2 separate regions of the Homo sapiens genome follow, and region 1 is linked to region 2. The links are contacts of gene promoters, found by promoter capture Hi-C in human tissues and cell types (Jung and others, 2019). All regions are on one chromosome and are shown on one strand. Each heading gives the region's core, a stretch centred on a gene start or on the middle of the fragment in contact. The rest is flanking DNA. Distances are from core to core; before and after follow the strand shown. Region 1 has its middle 22 kb from the start of MIR4643. Region 2 holds the start of MAP3K7 (mitogen-activated protein kinase kinase kinase 7).

Region 1 (2,866 bases), core at 92-2,591, 910 kb after region 2:
TATCATATGCTCATAATAACAAAGTAACCAAATAGCCATGGGTACCAGCAGCAATCTGCCCAGAATCCAGGAGGAGTCTTTAGCACCATATCTATTAAAAGCTTTCTAGACCCATGAATGCTATACTTATATCCTGGTAATTTTCTACTTTGGAATTAAGTTTGGGATCAGGAGTTGGGTAATTTGTTGTTATTTTCCTTCACATTCAAATTTATAAACACAATGATTTTTAAAATTTATTCCTTTTTTAGTACTTGAAGTTAAAAGAATTTAAATGTGTGTAGTTGGAGAGAACCGCTTCAGACATCTGTGCCAGATACATGTTAGAGTGTTACCAGTGATTCTCTCCATGATCCTTGCTTCCTGGTTTTCATGTCTTGGTATAATCTCTTCTTGCTGAGTGTTGACAGGACCTGTAACTTGCCTCTAAAAAATGGAATGTATAAAAGATGATAGAATAGTAATTCCAATGGTTACATTATTATACACACACACACACACACACACACACACATACGATATTGGGTTATGTATAATATATATTACATATACAAAACTAATATATGTTATCTATAACAATGTATATCACATATATAACATCATATATACATACATATTATATATATATATAACTGCTTTGCTGGTGGGGACTTGCTCTAAGAACTGTCTTCCTTGCTGGCTTAAGTAATAGGCTATGTTGGGAAAGCCCATGTGGCAAGGAACAATGGGAGCTTCTGGGAATTAAAATGGCTTCTAGGAATGTGAGTAGCCGCTACTAGCTGAGAGAAGCTTCAACTCATGGCCAGCAAAATGCTGGTACCCTTAGCCCTTCAGCCACAAGGGAATGAATTCTGTCAACAACCTGAGTAAGCATTGAAATACATTTTTTTTTTCCAGCTTAGTTCCAGCTGAGAATGCAGTTCAGTTGATGTCTTGGTTGCAGCCTTGTAAGCCTATAAGCAGAAGATCCAGTTATGTTAAAGCCTAGACTCCTGACCTGCAGAAACTCTGAGTAACAAAATGTGTGTTGTTTTAAGCTGCGAAGCTTGTGGTGATTTGTTACATAGTAATGAAACTAATAAATTTGTCTAAACTAAATAATTCAGGCCAGGAAAAATCCCCCTATGCTCGTATGAATATAATCATTATATCTGCCACACATACCTTCAAGTTCAAGCTTTAAAAGGCTACTTGCTGCACCACTAGATCACTTGTTCTCCACCAACCATGGCATATTTGCTCACATCTCTCTACCTGTGTTTATGAGGGCGTTTTTAAAAATAGAGTTTCCAAAAGTGTAGGACACATTTCATTTATCATAAGCTGGACCTGGTAGGTAGATAATTATGTTCACACACATAGCATTAAATCAAATTGTATTACGACTTGGAAAATATTTTTTTTTCCTCAATTTTCTTGGCATCTGTCTTAGTCCTCTTGGGCTATTATAACAAAATACCATAGACTGAAAGGCTTCAACCATTTTTTTTCTCCCAGTTCTGGAGGCTAGAAGTTCCAGATCAAGGTGTCAGAATGAACGGTCTGGTGAGGGCTCTCTTCCTGGCTTGCAGGTGGCCACCCTTACACTGTGTCCTCATATGGAGTGGGGGTGGGGAGAAAGAGGACTCAAGTGTCTCTTATAAAGGGACTGATCTCAGCACGAGGGCCCCACCCTCATTATCTCATCCCAAATTAATTACTTCCTAAAGATCCCATCTTTAAATAACATCACATGGGGGGTTAGGGGTTTAACTTATGAACTGTAAGGGGACTCAGTCAGTCTGTAGCAGCATTTTTTTTTTTTTTTGTATCTCTTCTATTTTGTCCCTGTTCTTTCTGTTAAATTGTCTTTGTAACAAGGGATGCAGACCTGCAGAACAGTCTTTGGTAGCAACAGAAACTATGTAAAATATAATGTTTTCTTCTGTTTTCAACACATCTATTTTTCAACTTCACCTTTACATTGTGCCAGGTGATACTGGGTTTTCACTTGTGGAAGTCCTAACGTGCTTTCTTTTTAAGTACATTTATTTAAAATTTAATAAAACTTGAATCATATGAAGGAAAATATGAAGTAACTATAACCATAGGTATTAACATAGGTCATGCATGTGGTCCACAGTGACTGAACTTTGAAAAACTTCATTTCCATCAAACTCCTCCTTTTTGCTTGTTCCTCAAGGTTCAGCTCACATATGGCCTTCTGAGAAAGCCTTCCTGGCCTTCTTTAATTAATGATACCCTTAGTGAATCCACAGAACATAACTCAAAATGTTATTACAGCATGTATCAATTCCTTAACATTTGTTTCCCTTGATTTATTATAAACTCCTAGTATCAAAGACCACGCCTAAATTATCTATGTTTGGCCTCTAGAATGGTGCCTTGAACATGGGAGAAATGTGTAACTCATTTTAGATAATATGTTACTATATACGAGAGGTAATACTGGCCAGTGTATTGCTTGTGTAGATAAATAAGGCTCTTCTTACGCTATAGGAACATCATATACACTATAGGCACTTCCATCACTATATATGACCTTAAGATAAAAATCATATAAGTGAATCTTACTGGTAAAGACCAGTAAACAAAAAAGACATAATTAAATAGGAATGTGCAATAGATTACAAAGTAATGTTAAATATTGTGAATTAATTTCAGTTAATTTGTCTTATTCAAAATTTTCCATTAAAGAACTCGTTTTAGTTTCCAAAAACTTCGGTTACAAAGCAAAAAGAAGTAATTACTAATCATTTATTCTGAAATAAATTTTAAAACTCTAAGAGCTTTATTATCTTTTATAAACTATTTATAGCATTTCTACTAGGTGTTAAAAAAAGCATCAGGTTCTTAAAAATTATTA
Region 2 (3,027 bases), core at 225-2,724:
AAATATATATGCAGTTTTTACTTTTCTAAATTTTATAGTCATTAGAACCCAATTTACCTGTTAATTTGAAAAACGACGCTTTAAAGTCACTTTGAAATATCTTGTTCTAAAATAAATTACTGCAGAATAAAGAAAGGATATGGGTTTTCTGATAGCGATTTCTAGTCTAATATTATATTCTGATTGTCACCGAAATCATTCGTTATCTCTTCAGAATATGCTACTTGAAACATCTTTTGATCGTAGACCAGTCTATGTTACTTATGGTGAAATTCACCTACATTAGCCCAACTGAAAGCCGAGCATTTAAACATTACGAGTATTGCTGTGCGGTATCGGAGAAATTGAGAACCATTCGGTGCTAAGGGAAACACTTTATTAGACTTGATGATCTACTAATTTAACAAGCATTTATTGAGCATCCCCTACATGCCAGGTACTGAAGTAGAAGTCGAATATAATACAATCTTTGGCCATTAAGAACATTACGTCCGGCCGGGCCCGGTGGCTCACGCCTGTAATCCCAGCACTTTGGGAGGCCGAGGCGGGTGGATCATGAGGTCAGGAGATCGAGACCATCCTGGCTAACAAGGTGAAACCCCGTCTCTACTAAAAATACAAAAAATTAGCCAGGCGCGGTGGCGGGCGCCTGTAGTCCCAGCTACTCGGGAGGCTGAGGCAGGAGAATGGCGTGAACCCGGGAAGCGGAGCTTGCAGTGAGCCGAGATTGCGCCACTGCAGTCCGCAGTCCGGCCTGGGCGACAGAGCGAGACTCCGTCTCAAAAAAAAAAAAAAAAAAAAAAGAACATTACGTCCAGCGGACTGAAACTCCAGAACGGCTACGATCTTCGCTGAAACTACTACTTACAGATACGAGAACTGGTGGACCACACTATCTCACCAGTTCATTCTCCTGTTTATCACCGGAATATCAAATCCAAAATCAAGAGTACCCAAGAGAGGAAAAAAGGCAGCTACTCCCGAGCAGTTGAGCTCAGAGAGTAACCCCCACTCCCACGTTACTGAGGGCTGTGGGGTCTCCCGGGTGGACCCCGCAGGGTCCCGCGAATTAGAGGGGCCCCGGGAGGCACCTTCAGAGCCGGCACCAGGCAGAGGCGGGGGCGGGGCAGGCCGGGACCGGCGTCTCCATGCCGGGCCTCGCTCACCTCTTCCACCTCGATCTCCTTGTAGTCGATCTCTTCAAAGTTGAGGACCTGGGAAGGGGCTTCGATCATCTCACCGGCCGAAGACGAGGAGGAGGAGGAGGCGGCAGAGGCTGTAGACATGATCCCTCGCGGCGCCCGGTGGGGCCGGGAACGGTGCCACCCGGACAATCCGGGTGAGACCCGCGCCCACCCGCCTCCGGACCGACCCTCAGCCTGGAGCCGCGCAGTCCTACTACCCGGCGATCCGTGGCGGGGGTAGAGGCAGCGGCCACAGCCGTGTCCGGCTCTGGCTCCGCTGCGTTTTCCGCCGACGGGCCCCGCCCACTACACTTCCGGTTCCGGGCTGAAATCGGAAACAGGAGGAGGGCCGTAAACTCCGGGGTAGGGGAGGGGAGAATTTTGTGACTTGGAAAGAAAAGGAGGGACAGGTTGGGGGTGGGGTGGAGTAAGCTAAGAAGCAAACTTGGACCTCTAGAACAAATTTCGCGAGACCTTTATTACAGGGCCTCAGCAACCGGATGATACCGCGAGAGAGGACGCCTGACGTAATTAAAGTGCGCGAACGGAAGTGGCGCGGAACATGACGGAAAATCAGTACGGTTGGTCCCTTAAGGACCAGCGGGAAAGATAAAAGCTGGGGTTTAGTCTGTGCTGCGTGAAATATGTCTTGGCCTCACTTCCTGTCCTCTGAGCTGCCTGCAGCCGGGCGAGGTGGTGTTGAACTGTGTTTTTTGTGACGAAGCTTACTTTTAAGTTTCATCCCTAAACTAAGTTGACCTGTTTCTTTAAGACGGCTTGCAAAATGTGTTTTCCTCAATGTGGGATATGGAAAGAAGCAGTTGCTCCTGTTATTTTGAGCTAGTACCTGACGCTATGAGAAATTCTAAAAGAGCGAATCAGATCATGCAACATGAATAACTATGGAGGCTGAGTGATCAAGAACAGAAGTTAATATTTTGGTGTTACAAACTTTCCACGGATTAGGTGAATAAGATATTTATAATTTGGTGTGTTCATCTCAAGTTATGGATTACGAGTGCGGGGCACTAGTGCTTTAGATTGGTAAATGAATCATCAACAGTCGCCTTGAAAATCGAATATTTTTGTCACCATTTTCAGGACATGAGAAAACACGCTGAGAGTTTAAAGCAATTATGGTCCTCACAAACTAGATCATTCTGTCCCCAAGATGGTCAGTATTGCTCATGTTGTACTACCAGCACAAGTTTTAGTTTTAAACTAACTGTTGAATTTTATATAGTCCGTTTGACATAAAGCCTAACTGTGGAATTATGTTAAACACATTTGGGATTGCAAATAGATCATTGGATTTGACCATCAAGAAGTTACAAACTCCTGGGAAACATTCTGTCACTTTTTATTCGTAGTTCTAGTGACACGCAGTGACAGTTTGATGAGTGGATAAAAAAATGAAAGAAACGATAATTTCTTTTCACTGTACACTCTCTCTTTGCATGCTCTTACCCAAGGTCTCTGTTTCTCATACTATTTTTATAATGATGACTCCTAATCTCCAAATACTCAAGATTTTTCCTGAATTCTGGACCTATTGGTCATCTCTACTTAGACAAACACCTAAACTTCAAGATACCACAGCAAATTCAAAAGTTGTCACCCACCACAAATATATTCCTATGTTATTTTCCTATGTCACTTAAGGATGCCATCACCCAGTTGGTTGTCCAAGTGAGAAATCAGGGCATGTGAAATGATGCGTGGTGCACTGATACCCAGTAGAAGCTGATATAATCAGTGGGACAGTCATTTTCACCTGTCATTCCCCTTGCATTTCCAAACAAGGATGGTCACTTCTTACCTTGTGCTATAACTCTGCAGGTCT

The links. Contacts are between HindIII fragments. The study calls those that stand out against the background at their distance.
Region 1: a contact is called between a fragment that was not itself captured here and the fragment with the promoter of MAP3K7 in region 2, in 1 of the 25 tissues and cell types used here (mesendoderm cells).

Annotation. Positions count from the first base shown.
Region 1 is chr6:91,497,973-91,500,838 of GRCh38, forward strand. No RefSeq gene overlaps it. Among named protein-coding and RNA genes, the nearest start is that of MIR4643, 22 kb to the right of the region's middle. The HindIII fragment of the contact is 5,415 bases long and covers 1-2,866 here.
Region 2 is chr6:90,585,598-90,588,624 of GRCh38, forward strand. MAP3K7 (mitogen-activated protein kinase kinase kinase 7) reads right to left here and starts at 1,475. Exons shown (of 17, transcript NM_145331.3): 1 at 1,167-1,475. The coding sequence starts at 1,286. LOC124901363 (a long non-coding RNA gene) reads left to right here and starts at 1,197. Exons shown (of 2, transcript XR_007059680.1): 1 at 1,197-2,358. RefSeq lists silencers at 1,295-1,414, 1,411-1,607. The HindIII fragment of the contact is 6,191 bases long and covers 1-3,027 here.